2 separate regions of the Homo sapiens genome follow, and region 1 is linked to region 2. The links are contacts of gene promoters, found by promoter capture Hi-C in human tissues and cell types (Jung and others, 2019). All regions are on one chromosome and are shown on one strand. Each heading gives the region's core, a stretch centred on a gene start or on the middle of the fragment in contact. The rest is flanking DNA. Distances are from core to core; before and after follow the strand shown.

Region 1 (4,102 bases), core at 385-2,884, 490 kb before region 2:
AAGCCAACAGTGAAGATCAGTGAAAATAATGTAATTTCTGAGCTGAGAAGTTTTGAGCAGGGACAAACAAAAAAATGTCTAAACAATATGTATCTTTGTACACTGTAGTGTTAAGTCCACTTTTAAAAGAAATGCGGATGCGATGTCAAGTTAAAATTGCTGTTTAACTGTTTCCCCAACTACATTCAAAATCAAATCTTCATATTCTATCATGCCCTTACTTGAAATATTATCCTCTATTAATTCGTAACACAGTAAACAGAACAGTGTAGTGATTAAGAGCCACAGAGTTCTGAAAATAGACTACAAGGGTTCAAATCCTGGCTCTTTCCATTCCTAGCTATGTTCCCTTAGTCAAATCAACCTCTCTGTGCCCATTTCCTCATCTGTAAAACTACCGTATTTATAAAATTTACAACTACAATAAACTTATAAAATCTACGATATATTTATAAAACCTACTTATAAAATTTATAAAATATTAAGGGTTGTAAGATATGGATAATGAATGTAGAGTACTTAGAACACTTTTAGGCCCATAGTAAGGCTTCAAAAAATGTTAGCTATTATTATCATTACATTATCATCACATGAACTCCATGAAAGTTCTGAAAGAAAAGAAATATGAAATGATTTGTCTAAAACACAGAACAAACAAGTGGCAGAATCTAGGGAAAAAAATCTTCATTTTAAGTCCGGAAGAAAATCAGTGGGCTGACTGCAGTGGCTCACGCCTGTAATCCTAGCGCTTTGGGAGGCCAGGGTTGGCGGATCACTTGAGCCCGGGAGTTAGCGACCAGCCTGGGCAACATAGCGAAACCACTTCTCTACAAAAAATACAAAAATTAGCTGAGCATGGTGGCGCGCACCTGTAGTCCCAGCTACTTAGGGGGCTGAGGTGGGAGGATCACTGGGGCCCAGGAGGTTGAGGTTGCAATGAGCCATGATCGTGCCACTGCACTCCAGCCTGGGCAAGAGTGAGACCCTGTCTCAAAAACAAAACAAACAAACAAAAAAAAACAGTGATTCTTTGAGTCAGTACATTTTCCAGTCCCTCTAAGTCTCCAGGAAATTACATGAGAATTTTTAAGTTAAAACAGCAGCACAGAGTAGTGGAAATAGCACAAATATGAACTAAGAAGACCTACCTGCTCCACCAATTACTTAAGTGTACAACCCTAAGCAGGTCACCTAAACTTCAAATTGCTCATCTTTAAGATATTCTGCCTTTATCACAGGGTTGTTGAGATCAAATTAGAGAATGTATGAGAAAATGTATATAAACCAATAAAACACTATATGAATGTTCAAGGGCCATGTCTTATTCATCTTTATATCCCCAATGCTTAGCAAAATGCATGGCAGAGGTTATAATCTAAAAGAAGGCCATGTGAGGGGTTGGCAGGGTGAAGATTCAATGAAAATGGGGAGGAGTTTAAAAGAATTAAGAAACTTGACCAGGCGCGGTGGCTTACACCTGTAGTCTCAGCACTTTGGGAGGCCGAGGCAGGCAGACCACTTGAGGTCAGGAGTTCAAAGACCAGCCTGGCCAACATGGTGAAACCTCGTCTCCACTAAAAACGCAGAAATTAGCGGGGCATGGTGGTGCACGCCTGTAATCCCAGCTACTGTGGAGGGTGAGGTGGGAGAATCGCTTGAACCTGGGAGGCAGAGGTTGCAGCGAGCCGAGATGGCGCCACTGCACTCCAGCCTAGGCGACAGAGAGAAACTCTGTCTCAAATAATAATAATAATAATGAAAGAATAAGAAACTCAAATGTCCATCAACTAAAGCAATGGCTATCAACGTAGTATATACATACAGTGGAATATTATTTGGCAATAAAAAGGAATGAAATACTGATACATGCTACATGGATGGGCCTTGAAACATATGCAAGTGAAAGAAGTCAGACACAAAAGACCGTATGTTGTATGAAATGCCCACAACAGGCATTTGGAATTATCAACATCTCTACAAGATTGTAAGTACATTAGTGGCTGCCTGGAGGTGAGGGTACGGGGAGTGACTGCCAATGGGTACAAGGCTTTTTTTTGAAATGCTGTCCTAAAAATGACTGTGGTGATGGTTGCACAACTCTGTGAATACACTAAAAACCACTGACTTGTATACTTTAAATGTGTGAATGAAATGGTATGTGAATTATACTTCAAGAAAGCTTTTTTAAAAAAAAAAAAGAATAAAAGTTTAAGGAGAGAAGCGTTAAAGTATAAAATCACTGGCTTTGGAACATAAGTTTGTTTCTTTTTTTAAGGAAATACTAATAATTACCATATCAGATACTAATGTCTCTACAAATCCTGTGAAAAACAAATCTGGCATCTATTCTTACCCCTCCTTTCAATTTTCTCTCTAAGTTTACAAATTATCTCTTCTGCTTTAATTCAATTGTCTTTTCATTGTAGTCACTGTTTCTGAACTTCTACACCGCATTTGAAACTGTCAACACCCTGCCCTTGTAGAAAATCTTCCTATCCTGGAAATGATGCACTTTCTGGTTCTTCTCAGAATGCTATTAGCCTATTTCAAGACCCAAAATTCCAAACCTCAAAGCTCTTTCTTCATTATACTACTACCCTCCCAACACACATCTACTGATGTGTTTTACTAGCATCTATATCCCTGGTCAGTGCAAAATCTACCTTTCATCTAACCGTTCATTGTATATGGGAATAATTACATGCATAAGGTTAAGCAACTTGCCCAAAGTCCCTTCTGATTTTAATACCTTATTATGAAGATTTAATGAATTAAACAAACGTAGGCGCTTAGAATACCTGTCATACAGTAAGTAAATGTTAGCTATTATTTTATTCCTACAACCACTATCTTATATCAGACCCTCATCAGCTTATTCCTAAAATTCTCCATAAGCACTCTAATCAGTCTCTCCACTCCCAGGACACTCAGCTGAAACAAAAACCTTCCTCAGGAACAAGATGCATCATCTTACTCTCATTCTTTAGAACCCATTGTGGTACCCTATCAAACTAAACCCTCTATCCTTGAAAGATCCTCCATCAATACCCCCTCACCAATCCTAAACTCATTTATTATTATTCACCAACACAGATGATCTGACAGTCAAGCTCCTTGATATCATTTGTACATTGCCACTTCTCTCGCTTTGCACAGGCCCCTTCACTCTCCTGAAATACACCTCTTTCCCTTTGGAAATTTGTATCTTTCTCAAATGTCCCTTACACTTTTGACCTTGGTTGTACTGTTATCCCAAGGAGAAGTTTGATGCAGTTTGATAATTCTGAATGATGTACATGTTTCCCGAACAGAAAAAGAAACTCTGTTCTTTCGATATAAGTTGAAGCTTTCCAAGAGACCACGTATCTTATTCGTCTCTTCATACAGACTTCACACATAGATAACTCGGTACTTTACAGAAGTACACAAATGCTGACTTACCAAAAAAAAACAAAAAGCCTCAGTATGTATCAGAACAACATTCTCCATTTTCCACTGCCCCACCCATACTTAGCATAATGAAAAAATATAATCTAAAATCTATATTTAAATATTTTCATTCTACATAGAAGGAAAGGGAATATACGAACTGTACCAGATAAAAGGAAAAAAATGTCAAAAATATACTCAAAGAATGTACAATGTGAAAAAGTGAGAATGCAGGCCACTTTGGAATCTAGTAAGTGACTTTGAAACATTAAGTTTTTTTATTTTACCCAAACTAATGAACAAAAAAGAGCCAAAATAAACACGTTCTAGCCTCATCCAAAAAAAATCTAATGAAAGCATGAGAAACTTCCCAGTTTTGTCCTCGGCAGCACAAAACCAAGAAGATTCACCTCAATTCTGAGACACAAAAGCAAAAAGAGAAATCCTCCTATTTATCTAAGAAACTAAAAAACTTAATCACGTCTATATAATATATACCACTCAGAAAAAGAGAGGAGTTACTGCTTTTCTATAAATATTTGCTAGGGACCAGGAGGAATAGGCTTCTCTCACTGTTATTGCGGGAACAATCTGTGGTCTCAAAACAGCAAAACAGAAGATGGAAACCCTAATCTGGAAGAGACATTAAGAAAAAAACTACTCAAACCATGTT
Region 2 (3,953 bases), core at 836-3,335:
CATAAAAAGGGATGAGTTCATGTCCTTTGTAGGGACATGGATGAAGCTGGAAACCATCATTCTCAGCAAACTATCGTAAGAACAAAAAACCAAACACCGCATGTTCTCACTCATAGGTGGGAACTGAACAATGAGAACACTTGGACACAGGAAGGGGAACATCACACACCAGGGCCTGTTGTGGGGTGGGGGGAGGGGGGAGGGAAAGCATTAGGAGATATACCTAATGTAAATGACGAGTTAATGGGTGCAGCACACCAACATGGCACATGTATACATATGTAACAAACCTGCATGTTGTGCACAGGTACCCTAGAACTTAAAGTATAATAATAAAAAATAAAAAATAAAAAGAGACTCCATCTCAAAAAAAAAAAGCAATGTGGCAATGTCTAGTAAAATTGAGAATGTACCCAGTAATTTTTCTAGTTAAATAACCTACAGAAATTCTAAGGCAGGTGCCAAAGGAGACACCTAAAAGCTTTTCACTACAGCAATGTTTGTAATAGCAAAAAATACTATAAATAATTTAAATGTGCATCTCTGTAAGAATGAATAAATATACTAAGTAAAATGGATGCATAAAATAGACTATTATAAAAATTAATGAGAATAAACTAAATTCTTATATTGGCATGAATAGTTCTAAAAAACAATGTAAGCAAAATGCAAAATAAAATGCAGGAATTTTATTAATGTAAAAATTTAAAATACTACTGTATATTGTTCAAGGATATCTATTAATATATTTGAATGTAAAAGTATAAAAAAAAGTAGTTGTCCATGGAGAAGTAAAAGGATGTAAGACAGGAAATGAACAAAGCAGACAGATAAACAAAACAAAGAGGGAAAAAGAGACCAGCAAGATTTTCCCTGACATTAAATACTAAAATAAAATACTTATGTCTGTATGTGGCTCAATATTGGCAGGGTAAAGTTTAAAGCTTTTTATTCTCAAGTTGATTGTAATCGTTGAGAGAACAAAGGAACACACTGGTGAGTTTAAAGCTTGGGCCTCTACCTGGCATGAGTAGCTGCTTTCCGCACCAAATCCAGAACATCTGTACTGGGGGTGTCTGACACTTGCGTGCTCTCTCTCATTCTGACCCCTTCTTTCCCCTTACATATCATTTTTTTTCCTTTCTTCCTTCCCTTGGGTCTCTTACCACAAAAGCTCCGCACCAGACTGGGGTTCTGACACTAACTTGGCATGTGATTCTGGGCTGCCACCTCACCATTCTGAACCTCAGTGTTGTCCCCTCTAAACCTGGGAGAACACCCATCCTGCCTGGAGGCAAGTATGGCTCGCTGTCAGTTCTCCTTTCTGCTGTTTCTCTATTCCAGCATCATCTCCAGCAGACTACAGGCATACAGAGCCTCCGCCTTAATCTCACCTCTGCTCTTTGTCTCTGCTTCAGCTCCTGCTGGGCTGATTTCTGTTTGGCCTTCTCAACTCTGCTGACAGATTCTTTAACTTTGGTTTTTTCTTTACGTGCAGGTGGATCCATGGCTTGACTTCTGGATATTTCTTAGGAGGCTCTGATCTGGGTGGTACAGAAAGAGGCAGATCTTCAAAACAAAACAAAACAAAAAATACCCTGCCAGTTACTCCTCTAATCCTTTAGCTCCGCCCCATCCTTTGCCAGGTGAGGCAGAGTGGTCTGGTGGCAAGGGCGCTGGATGTGGGGGAGTAGGAACCGAGTCCCAAGGCCACAACCTCGCTGGGTGTCCCTGGGCAAGTCTCCTCCCCACTTTGAGCCTTAGTTTTCTGTCTGCAAAATGGGTTAAGTGTTTTCCTGGCCTCCCTCCAGGAGCTGCTGTGTGCGGGTGAAATGCAAAGACCCCTGTGAAAGCGTTGCCCACTGTGCGGCGTGCGGCACCCAGCGCGGAACCGTCCTAATGGGACGCTGAGACCCAGAGGGCGCCCAGGGTTTTCCCACTGCGGCCGGCCTAACTCCGCCGCAGCAGCCGCTCCTGGGGCCAGGGGGCCGGGCCCCATAGCCAGCCGGGCCCGCCCCCCACCGCCCGGCCCCCCGACCCCGCCCCGGCCCGCCCGGCCCCAGGGGACGGCCCCCGCCTCCTGCCCTCTTCCCTCTCCTGGAGGAAAATGGCGGTCGCTGGAGCCGCCGACCAAGAGGCTTGGGAGTCTGTACCTTTCCCGACCGGGCCACTGGAAGTTGGAGCCTCCGCCGAGTCGCAGACAACGCCTCCGGGAGGGTAATCCTCGCCTTCCCCCGACCACTGGACCCAGCGCTGCCTGCCCACCGCCCCTCGTCCTGGGCGGGGCCGCGCGCCGGGGGGAGGGGCGCAGGGCCGAGCGCCAGGAGGCTTCCGCCCGCAGGAGCGGCCGCGCGTGCGCAGAGAGGATGGCTGGAAACCCGCGTAGAGGGCGGGGCGGGGCAAGCCGGTGCCGGGGCGGGGCAGGGGCGGAGCCACACCGGGGTGGGTGGTGGTTACGGCTAACCAAAGCTTTTTCCCGTTATATTTTCTGCAACAGCTACTAGGTTTTAGAGGGTGAGATCCGAATCCTGGAATTGGAATTGCTCAGAATTCGAATTCCGAGGCTCAATTTCTTAATTCGAAAAGTGGGGATTGATGATTGCCACCTTCTTCATTCATGAGTTTATTGGGAGGATCAAGTGAGATCCCGTTTGCCACAGTGCTTTGAAAAAGGAAATCTTGACAGAAGTACCAATAGCCAGTATAAATACAGAGAACATTCACGTTCAACTGATTACCGAGGAGATGTAAATTAAAATAGCTGGCTGTAATTTTCCAGGTATTACATTAGCAAGGATTGACAAAAATGATAATAGCTACCTTACATTTGGGCTTACTATATTCCAGGCACTGTTCTTACAGCTTCACATTTATTAACTAATTCCTCATAATAAGTGTGTATAATGTATACGTGTATATTATTATCCCCATTTACACATAAGGGAACAGAAGCATTGAAAAGTTAAGTGAGTTGTCCCGGGTCACACAGCTTCTAAGTGCTGGAGCAAATATTTCAGCCAGGATTCATAGGACAATGGCCTTATCCAAAGTAAAACCCTGTTTGGGTCCACTATTTGTTCCTCTATCAAACTGGCAAGAATTGAAACAACTGATAGATGCTAAGCAAGCAATGAACTCAGCCCAGATGGACACACGCTTCCAGTCAAACTGTAAATCGTTAACAGCCTTTCTGGAGGTCAGTTTAGTACTAGGTATCAAAAGCCTTAAAAGTGAGCACAATGCCCCAAAAAGACAAATACTGCATGTTTCCATTCATATGAAGTATCTAAAGCAATCAAAGTCTAAGAAACAGAAAGTAGAATGGTGACTGCCAGTGGCTAGGAGAGAGGGAAAAGAGGAATTGTTTAAAGGGTATAGAATTTTAGGTTTGTAAGGTGAAAAAGTTCTAGAGATCTACTGCACAATGTTTATTTTTTATTTATTTAATTTTTAAAAAATAGATGGGGTCTTGCTCTGTCACCCAGGCTGGAGTGCAGTGGTGTGATCATAACTCACTGTAACCTGGGCTCAAGCAATCCTCCCACCTCAGCCTCCAAAGTATCTGGGACTACAGGCACACACCATCATGCCTGGCTAATTTTTTAAAATTTTTTTGTAGAGATGGAGTCTCACTGTGTTTCCCAGGGTGATCTGGAAATCCTGGGCTCAAGTGATCCTCCTGCCTCAGTCTCCCAGAGTGCTGGGATTACAGATGTGAGCAATTGCGCCCAGCTTTTCCAAAATTTCTACAGTAAACGTTTATACTTTAGCAATCAGAGGAAAGTACATTAAATGTCTTTTTAAAAACCCTATACAAATGCTGATTCGATTATTATTAATAAAAGTAACCAAGTCAGAGTCTATTTCAGAAATCTTGATGTAGTACTGGTATTTTACATTTGTGTCACATGGTATGGTTTATAACGTTCATATAAGCTATGAACTAGATTACA

What was found. Contacts are between HindIII fragments. The study calls those that stand out against the background at their distance.
Region 1: a fragment that was not itself captured here is called in contact with the fragment with the promoter of ERMAP in region 2 in 2 of the 25 tissues and cell types used here (hippocampus and lymphoblastoid cells).

The regions. Positions count from the first base shown.
Region 1 is chr1:42,329,644-42,333,745 of GRCh38, forward strand. All of the region lies in intron 1 of FOXJ3 (forkhead box J3), which reads right to left. Among named protein-coding and RNA genes, the nearest start is that of FOXJ3, 3.5 kb to the right of the region's middle. The HindIII fragment of the contact is 5,072 bases long and covers 1-4,102 here.
Region 2 is chr1:42,815,037-42,818,989 of GRCh38, forward strand. It overlaps ERMAP (erythroblast membrane associated protein (Scianna blood group)), which reads left to right and starts at 2,086. Exons shown (of 12, transcript NM_001017922.2): 1 at 2,086-2,217. It overlaps SVBP (small vasohibin binding protein), which reads right to left and starts at 2,361. Exons shown (of 3, transcript NM_199342.4): 1 at 2,154-2,361; 2 at 1,395-1,544. The coding sequence starts at 1,508. RefSeq lists silencers at 1,235-1,304, 1,865-2,064, 2,215-2,504. The HindIII fragment of the contact is 4,586 bases long and covers 713-3,953 here.